Regions from separate parts of the Homo sapiens genome. Here all the other regions are linked to region 1. The links are contacts of gene promoters, found by promoter capture Hi-C in human tissues and cell types (Jung and others, 2019). All regions are on one chromosome and are shown on one strand. Each heading gives the region's core, a stretch centred on a gene start or on the middle of the fragment in contact. The rest is flanking DNA. Distances are from core to core; before and after follow the strand shown.

Region 1 (3,190 bases), core at 210-2,709:
GCCTGGGCAACAGAGCGAGACTCTGTCTCAAAAAAAATAAAAAAAATTAAAAAATGTCCTGACAGGGCGCGGTGGCTCACGCCTGTAATCTTAGAACTTTGGGAGGCTGAGGCGGGTGGATCACGAGGTCAGGAAATCGAGACCATCCTGGCCAACATGGTGACACCCCGTCTCTAATAAAAATACAAAAATCAGCCAGGCGTGGTGGCGTGCACCTGTAGTCCCAGCTACTCGGGAGGCTGAGGCAGGAGAATCGCTTGAACACGGGAGGCAGAGGCTGCAGTGGGCCGAGATCGCACCACTGCACTCCAGCCTGGGCGACAGAGCGAGACTCCGTCTCAAAAATGAATACATAAAAAATAAATAAAAATAAATGTCCATATAAAATTTTCAGTCATGCCCTACGTCCGTAAGTCAAACCAGGATCTTCTCAAATCACTGTTTCAAAAAATTCACATCACCCACAATTATAGACTTCAATTAAAGCGGCTTAAATTAGAAAGCCACCTTTGACATCCCTATAACTCCTTTACAAAGCAGCGGTTTCCAGTGGACGCGACTAAGACCTGCAGCACACAGGACAGGCCAAATCTTACCTCCTGTGTAGAGAAAGGAGCCAGACAGGCCTCCAAAGTAGATAAGAGCCAAGTGCTCCAGTTTCAGAGGGGACAGGTAGTAGAGGCAAGCGGCACAGACGCAGCCCAACGTGTAGAGGAAGACTCCGAACCGGACGACATCCTGCGGCTCCAAGATTCGGTCCACAAGTGTCCTGTCATCACTCTTTTTGTGGTCAATGCCCTTGGAAAAGTCATAGTAAGTGTTGACCAAATTACCGGCCCCGTGCACAGCCAGGACAGCCACGGCACAACCCACCAAGAGCCTGGGATCCAGGACACCGTGGGATCTGTAGGCAAGGGCACTGCCCAGGGCCACCGGTGTGAGTGAGGCACTGAAGCTCCAGGGCCTCAGGGCCAACACGTAGGAGGCACACTTCTGCCTCCAGGAGCGCTGGGGGAGCCTATCTTGCTCGGGACAGTCGTTCCCCAGCGGGTCCCTGTCCCCAGCTTTGACAGTCTCTCCCGACAGGATGTTAATCTTCTCCCCCAGGACCTGAGAGGCCGCCATGGAAGCTCCACGTGGTTGAAGTAAACTCTAAAAGTGAGCCACGCACAGTGACCGCCCGGGAAGGAGGAAGGACGGGGCGGGGCAGCAGGGCCCGACCTTCCTTCGGTTCCGCCCCAGGACAGGGCTGGTGTGGCGGCAAGGTCCGGGGGCAACAGCAAGTGGGTCTTACACCCCACGAGGCCAAGCGGCGCCGCCCCTACTACCCGTCACCTGGGCGAAGTCTGTCTCCGGCCCCCAGCCCCGCGTTAGAGCCCACGGCTGAGCCGCGGCCGCCTTCTTTAGGCCGCCAGAGCCGCCATCTTGTGCGCCGGCCTCTGGAGGCCCGCCCGGAAACAGGTGCCGGCGGCGCGGGCTGGACCGGAGGGTGGGCTGGAGGGCGGGAGGGGGCGGGGCCGAGCCAGAGGCGGGGAGAAGGGCGGTGAGGGGTGGGGGGCGGGGGCCTGGTCAGAGGCGGGGCGGGCAGGGCCGAGTCAGAGGAGGGGCGGGGTCAGAGGCGGGGAGAAGGGCGGTGAGGGGTGGGGCGGGGCTGAGGGGCGGGGCCAGACCGGTGGTGGGGCGGGAGGGGGCGGGGCCGGGGCGGGAATGGACCGGGAGCGGGGACGGGCCAGGAGCTGGGGCCGGGCGGTGACCCGGCATCCAGCCCTTTTCCTGCCTGCACTGCGCCCCGCAGCTACTTCCAGACTAACTGCAATCAGCCTCTCTTAGCATCATAAGAACTCGAAGGCGTGTTGCTTTAGGACTTACCGGGCGCACTTTCATTCACGAAGTAGGATTCATTAATTTATTCATGCTACAAGCATTTATTGAGCGCCTGCTGTGTGCATACATTCTGACGTCTATCATATCTGCACCGTGGAAATACTCTATGATGTGCTACTGCTCACCTCTTATCAGCTTTTCATTCAGTGACATCCTTCAGCAGCTTGAAATCTGCCCATGGTGGGAGAATTTACACCACGCAAATCAGCAAATGCTTAATAACTGCTAAGTCGTCTAGACTTAAGAAAGTGGCGGAGAAAATGTTCATATTACTGGTTAAACTTAAAAGTGTTGGAGGGTGCGGTGGCTCACGCCTGTAATCCCAGCACTTTGGAAGGCCGAGGCAGGCGGATCACTTGATGTCAGGAGTTCGACATCAGCCTGGCCAACATAGCGAAACCCTGTCTCTACTAAAAATACAAAAATTAGCCGTGCGTGGTGGCAGGCACCTGTAATCCCAGCTACTCGGGAGGCTGGGGCAGGAGAATTGCTTGAACCCGGGAGATGGAGGTTGCAGTGAGCCAAGATCATGCCAATGGGCTCCAGCCTGGGCAACAGAGTGAGACTCCATCTCAAAAAAAAAAAAAAAATTAGCCGGGGGTGGTGGTGCATTCCTGTAATCACAGCTACTCGGGAGGCTGAGGCAGGAGAATTGCTTGAACCCTGGAGGCAGAGGCTGCAGTGAGCCAAGATCACGCCACTGCACTCCAGCCTGGGCAGTAGAGCGAGACTCCGTCTCAAAAAAGAAAAAAAAGAGAGAAAAAAAGTGTGTAAGTGAATGCACCAAAACTTTGAGGAAATATTCGTTCAGCATTGGCAAATTATTATCCAGTTGAACAAATAAGTCGCTTGTAGCCTTGACAAACTAGTGAAGTTCTGACATATCTCTTTTGATTGTTTCACTTTCCTCTTACTCCTAACATAAAATATCAACCAACATTCATGTCTGAACTATGCTCATTGATCAATTGGGACCATAGGGAAGCTACACAACATCAAAGAAAGCATACTGTGAGAACTGGCTATATGGAGTTTACAATAGAGTCCTGTACTGTATATTTTAGTATTTGTAAACTGTATGCTACACATCATTTACATCAGTGAAATTATAATACACATGCAACATAGATGCACACAGGACTGACTACATAATTTGTGGTACCCAGTGCAAACTAAAGAGGTGGAGCTGGGGGTGATAATGTGTGCCTGTAGTCCCAGCTACTCAGGAGGTTTTTTTGAGACGGAGTCTTGCTCTGTTGCCCAGGCTGGGGTGCAGTGACACAATCTCGGCTCACTGCAAGCTCCG
Region 2 (3,190 bases), core at 326-2,825, 120 kb after region 1:
AAGTTTGACACTAGCCTGGGCAACAACAACAACAACAAAAATTCCATGTTCATTTACCTCAATAAATTTAGGAAGCATGTCTTTTAAAATCCGCTTTATTTATTTATATAACTAAAGCTGTTGTTGTTGTTGTTGTTGTTGTTGTTGTTTTTCTCAGTCCAACAAGTATCTAAAGCTGTATTGTCCAATATGGTAGCCTCTAGCCACATGTGGCTTTTTTTTTTTTTTTTTTTTTTTTTTTTTTTTTTTGAGACAGAGTCTCACTCTGTCACCCAGGCTGGAGTGCAGTGCTGTGATTTCGGCTCACTGCAACCTTCACCTCCCAGGGTCAAGTGATTTTCCTGCCCCAGCCTCCTGAGTAGCTGGGATTACAGGCATGCACCACCACTCCCGGCTGATTTTTGTATTTTTAATGGAGATGGGGTTTCGCCATGTTGGCCAGGCTGGTCTTGAACTCCCAACCTCAAGAAATCCACCTGCCTCAGCCTCTCAAAGGTCTAGGATTACGGGTGTGAGCCACTGCATCCGGCCTTATGGCTATTTTTAAATTAAATAAAATGTGAAATTCAGTTCCTCAGTCATACCACATTTTAGGTGTTCAGTAGCCACATGTGGCCAGTGGCTGCTGTATTGGACAGTGCACATAGAGAACTTTTCCATCATCACAGAAAGCTCTATTGGACAACACTGATCTAAGGCAAAAGAAAAGTATGTTAATAAGAATTATTCACATTATTTCAAAAACAATTTTTCTAGTTTCATATCAGCTGTCATACAATCATATCTTGTTATGAGAAAGATAAAACGAGATGGAAGTGTTCTTAAAATTCAACTCTAATCAATTCCTAAAATACTGCAATGTTTCACTGTTGCCATTGGATTTACATATAAATATCACAGCCTGGCATTCAAAGTCTTTCCTATTATGGCACCAGCCCGCTTCTTCAGCACATTTCTCTGTGAACCCTTCTCTCATAATCTGAGCTCTGGCCAAATTATTCACTCTTCTCCAAGTCCTACATTCATTCGTTCCATTCTTTGAATTGCCCTCTTCTTCTGCCTCTTTTTCTACTTTTGAAATCCTCTCCACTGTTTCTTCCCTCTTGAAACCTCTCCTGGCCCCTTCCCCTTCCACTCCTCTCCTTTCACATTAAAGATGACCACTTTTCCTAGCTGGGTTAGTAGGAGCAGATTGGATACATTGGAAGAGACTTGAGATGTGGTTTCCTCCAATTCCTTTGTGTTATAGTTGAAGAAACTGAGGCTCACAGAAGTTGAGAAAACCGAGCTGAGTGATATCGATCTCCTGATGTTGCCGTTCTCAGTCCCAAATACCTCTGACCTCTTGGGTTCTTTCCCGTTTTATAGTTACCCATAAAGCGTAAGTGGCTAGTAATGCTGACCAAAGGATTTAAGAATGTGGGAGACTAAAAGAGGTTTTAAAACGAGTCGAAAGAAGCAGAATATTTTTCCTGATCATATGCAGGTTTCTGATACGGTTTATTCAGTCAATTCTGTTTAGAGTGCAATTTCTAAATTTCTTTTGTGTGCGTATATCCTGAATATGCCTGAGGCAGATGTTCATCAGAGGTGACATGAAGAATGATCTGGAGTTAACAGTGAGCTGAGACCCTTCCCATTTCCCCATTCTTATCTGCCTCCAGGAGGCTGTGAGAGCTAGGCAACCCGCACCCCCTGCCCTGCCCAGCCCTATGGTGCAGGCAGCCACGCCTGCAGCCAAAGTGAACTAAAGTGAACCCCCTCCTCAAACTGTTCCCCACACAGCTAGGTATTGAGAACAGATTCCTCGGGAGTGAGATCATAGGCCCTCAACCCTAAGAGGAGCCATGGAGCCATTCCAAATGAAAGAATACTTCCTAAGCTTTTTATTTGTTTTAAATCTTCAGGGACCATGCTATCTTCTCTGTATCGTTCCAATTTTAGTATATGTGCTGCCAAAGCAAGCACTTTCTGCGTTTTTTGCCAGAACGCTAGGTGAGAAAATCAAAGTCTCAGAGGGTGCACCTTTTACCCAGTCCTCCCTATGTGTAGTGAAAGGTATCAGAAAAACATATCCTAGTTGTTGCCCCATAAACAATCTCATGTTTTTTATTTATTTGGTTTTGCCCCTCACCCAACCGCCCTTGAGAGGTAGGACTCGGTATATTCTGCATTATTTTTTGTAACAAATGTTTGTGGAAGAGCAATGCTCTTGTCTGTGTACTGACCAAGCTCTGACAGCTGTTCCCACACAGCTGCATGGTGAAGGCCGTGCGAAGTTCACTGCTAGGGCTTGCCCTTCTGAGTTGCTGTTCCTACATTGCTCCCTGCTTTGTCTCTTGGGGTAACAATTTGTGGGATTTCAGCACTGAACTTGCTTCCTGCTCTAGATGAAAAGAAAAACTACATCCTTGGTCCTGTGGCACAGAATCAGCTGATCCTGAAAAAATAATAGAGGGAGGCTGAGTTAGGAGGGACAGCTTGCATGAAGGATGCATTCATCCAAGTTGCTTGTGTTCACCAGCTGTAAATTTTGAACTATAGGGTTGGAAGGACCATTTGGAGATCATGCAGCTTTCTCTTCTACCTCTAGTCAGGATCCCTACAAAAATATGCTGTGCAGATGAGCTGTGCCTCTGCTTTAAGCCAGTGGTTCTCAAACTGTGACCCCTGGTCCAGCAGTTTTGGCGTCACATAGAAACTTGTTACAAATGCACATTCTCAGCCCCTATCCCAGCACTACTGAGTCAGAAACTCAGAGGGTGGAGCCCAGCCATCTGAAGGAGCCTTCCAGGGGATTCTGATGCACTTAGTAGTTTGAGAACTACTGCTCTAAGGGAACCCCTAGCAGGGCCCAGGAGTGAAGATTTCTAAGTCTCGGTGGCAGAAAACCAACACAGAGGTTTATCCTGTTCCCTTAATGGAGCTTCAGTAAATGCATAGGGCATCATGGCCACCAGTTCCTCTTTTTGGTCTCAGCTCTGTATTGAGCCAGAGTGCTTGTGTCCCTGGTTTTCTTGATCATGTGCCAGAGAGACAACAAAGTTAATATCTGCTGTACTGCGATGCTGGATAATGGCCCTGAGTACCTCTCCTAGACGTGGTCCACAGTCAGCTTCTTGGTGAGCTCAGCCTAGATTCCTTCTGCAGGGATTGACTTCAGCATCTTTATCCCCGCCCTCCTACACCA
Region 3 (3,190 bases), core at 265-2,764, 100 kb before region 1:
CTGTAGCTCCACTTATAATTAAGTTGTGGGCCCGATCCTCAGGTTTTTCTGTCTGCGAGCTGCAGAAGATGAGAGTCTCTTGATATATGCTGCCAAGGAGGGCCTCTGGATCTCACACCTCACTTAAATCGGTGATTAATCACCCCAGCTTTACATGGTCTTCTTCCAATGCACTGAAGGCCCCCAGCAATCACTATCTGGTTTTTTTTTCCCTTTTTTACTTTTATTTTTTGAGACAGGGTCTTGCTCTGTCACTCAGGCTGGAGTGCAGTGGTATGCTCACCACCCACTGCAAACTTGACTTCTTGGGCTCAAGCGATCCTCTTTCCTCAGCCTCCCAAGTAGCTGGGACTACAGATGCACGCCACCACCTTGGCACTATTCACATTTTGGGCCACATAATTCTTTGTCGTAGGAGCTGTAGGATTTTTTTTTTTTTTTTTTTTTGAGACAGCGTTTCCCTCTGTCATCCAGGCTGGAGTGCAGTGGCACAGTCTTGGCTCACTGCAACCTCTGCTTCCCGGGTTCAAGTGATTCTCCCTGCCTCAGCCTCCTGAGTAGCTGGGATTACAGGCACCCGCCACCATGCCCAGCTAATTTTTGTATTTTTGGTAGAGATGGGGTTTCACCATGTTGGCCAGGCTGGTCTCCAACTCTTGACCTCAGGTGATCCACCCAGCTTGGTCTCCCAAAGTGCTGGGATGACAGGCACCCGCCACTATGCCCAGTTAATTTTTGTATTTTTAGTAGAGATGGGATTTAGCCATGTTGGCCAGGCTGGTCTCGAACTCCTGACCGCAGGTGATCTGCTTGCCTCGGCCTCCCAAAGTGTTGGGATTACAGGCGTGAGCCACCGCGCCCGGTCGCATCATAGGATTTTTAACAGCATCGCTGACCTCTACCTCCTGGGTACCAATAGCCATGCCATCCCCCTCCCCCACAATTATGACAACAGAAATGTCTTCAGGCATTCTTGGATGGTTTTTCGTTTGTTTAGTTGGTTTGGGTTGGGTTGCGTTTTTTTGTAGAGGCAGGATCTTGCTAGGTTGCCCAGGCTGGTCTTGAACTTCTGCCCTCAAATGATCCTCCCATCGTGGCCTCACAAAGTGCTGGAATTACAGAGGGGTGAGCCACTGTGCCTGGCCAGCAATCACTATCTGACTCCACAGTTTTTATAATGATTACTTCCCCCAAATCTCTCAAATGGCTGAGATATATCTGCCAATGCATTCCCTTCTGTGGATTTTCCATCCCAGTTCACCATGACTGAGAGTTTTAACAACTGCCCTGCTATAGCACAACAGACCCCTACCTCCCAGGGATGGGGGCCTCATTGCTGGACCCAGCAAGTAACGCAACTCAAAAATCCCATTGAAAAATCTGCTTCCCATGACCTCTTCCAATACTAACTGCCTTCCACCAGAACTCAGCGGTAGGGATTTCTGAAAAGGAGAAAAAGAGCAGAATTAGACAGAGGGAGAAATTGAACTGTGATGCGGTGGCTACAAAGGGCCCAGACAATACTGCAGGGAGCCCTGGGGCTCCGATGAACTTTCAGAGCTGTTTCAAATCAAAGAATCCTATTTGATTCTCAAAACAACTTTACAAGGATGGCACTATCATTATCCTCTATCTATAGACGAGGAAACTGAGCTCAGAGAGGTAAGTGACCTGCCCAGGATCACACAGCTTTGAGGGGTTGAGCTGGGATTTCCACCCAGGTCTTTCACTCTCTAAAGATTCCTTCTAGGCTGGGTGCGGTGGCTCACACCTGTCATCCCGGCACTCTGGAGGCTGAAGCAGCAGGATCCTTGAGGCCAGGATTGAGACCAGCCTGGGCAACATAGGGAGATGCTCACTCTACAGGGTATTTTTTAAATTAGCTAGATGTGGTGGCATGCACCTATAGTCCCAGCTACTCAAGAGGCTGAAGCCGGAGGATCACTTGAGCCCAGGAGTCGGAGGCTACAACGAACTGTAATTGTACCACTGCACTCCAGCCTGGGCAACAGTGCAGGACCCTGTCTTGAAATAATAATAATAATAATTTTAATAAAATAACAAATAAAGCTTCCTTCCAACTTGTCCTCCCCAGTCTCCTAGGGCCTCGGAGTTCTCTGTTGGATCCTCTTCATTCGGCTGGCAGAAAACAGGGCGGCAGACGGGATGTTGCGTAGGAGGTGTCACAGGCCAGGTGTGGGCACGCCAGTCATCACTTCTACCCACATTCCGCTGGCCAGAACTCAGCCAAGTGGCCCAAGGTCGCTGTCTACAAGGGAGGCTAGCAATGTAGTCTAGCTGTGTGCCCAGGAGCAAAGGAGAAATGATTTAGTCCAGTCTCAGCCCTGCCCTGAATATGGGAGTGCTGAGAGCCAGCAGAGCAGACAGAGCCCATCTGTTTCATTAATTTGCTGTTTGTTCTTGGGCTGGGGGTGGAGGAATGCCCACAGGAGCTAATTTAGTTGGCAGCAAAAGGGAGTGAGTTGGGAGGTACCCATGGGTTCTGGTTTATCAGCCCAGGCCCAGGGCACATAAGGAGCAGCCATCTCTGAGGAACACCGGGCCTGAAATCCAGGGGTTCAAGTGCACAGATGGACCTGGGAGGTGGAGGCTGCTATTACTCCGTGGAAGGGAGAAGTGAGGCCAGTTGGTGGGTTAGCGGGATTCACCTGCCCCGAGTGAGCCAGCGAGTCCTGAACAGCTCAGGAAAGAGGTCAGGGGTACCTGACAGCCTCCCTTCTTCTAGGAGTTCCTGTGAGGTGTGTGGAGCCAGGCCTCAGCTCACCCCACTGTAGGCTGCATCCAGATGAGGGGGGCCAGGGCTTCAAGAGCAAGCCAGCCATGCTCCCCTGCAGAACTGGGGTAGGAATGGAGTACTAATCTCCTCTCTGCCAGAGCCTCCAAGGCCTCCACCCTGGCATCCCATCTCTCTGTGCATGAAGAATCGTGATCCAATTTATTAAAGGCTCTGAAAAGTCATGCGGACAGGAATCTTGTTTCTCTTGGTTTAACCAGCATTTCCCAGCATTATTTCAAAATGTCAAAATTGGAAAATACTGGTAAGAGTCAAAAGAAGGCCAGGTGCAGTGGCTTACGCCTGTAATCCCAGCACTTTGGGAGGCCGAGGTGGGCAGATCACTTGAGGTCAGGAGTTCGAGACCAGGCTGGCCAACAAGGTGAAACCCCGTCT

What was found. The method cuts DNA at HindIII sites, captures the fragments that hold promoters and counts their contacts. A contact is called where the count stands out against the background at its distance.
Region 2: a contact is called between a fragment that was not itself captured here and the fragment with the promoter of UBIAD1 in region 1, in 4 of the 25 tissues and cell types used here (heart left ventricle, heart right ventricle, mesendoderm cells and 1 more).
Region 3: a contact is called between a fragment that was not itself captured here and the fragment with the promoter of UBIAD1 in region 1, in 7 of the 25 tissues and cell types used here (H1 embryonic stem cells, IMR-90 fibroblasts, dorsolateral prefrontal cortex and 4 more).

Annotation. Positions count from the first base shown.
Region 1 is chr1:11,271,467-11,274,656 of GRCh38, reverse strand. UBIAD1 (UbiA prenyltransferase domain containing 1) reads right to left here and starts at 1,459. Exons shown (of 2, transcript NM_013319.3): 1 at 597-1,459. The coding sequence starts at 1,125. RefSeq lists enhancers at 1,191-1,240, 1,331-1,500 and silencers at 1,501-1,550, 1,611-1,880. The HindIII fragment of the contact is 12,769 bases long and covers 1-3,190 here.
Region 2 is chr1:11,151,128-11,154,317 of GRCh38, reverse strand. All of the region lies in intron 30 of MTOR (mechanistic target of rapamycin kinase), which reads left to right. It also overlaps the pseudogene RNU6-537P. Among named protein-coding and RNA genes, the nearest start is that of MTOR-AS1, 8.8 kb to the right of the region's middle. The HindIII fragment of the contact is 5,912 bases long and covers 1-3,190 here.
Region 3 is chr1:11,376,395-11,379,584 of GRCh38, reverse strand. It overlaps LOC105376740 (a long non-coding RNA gene), which reads right to left. Exons shown (of 4, transcript XR_946959.3): 4 at 2,049-2,298. Among named protein-coding and RNA genes, the nearest start is that of DISP3, 100 kb to the left of the region's middle. The HindIII fragment of the contact is 5,798 bases long and covers 1-3,190 here.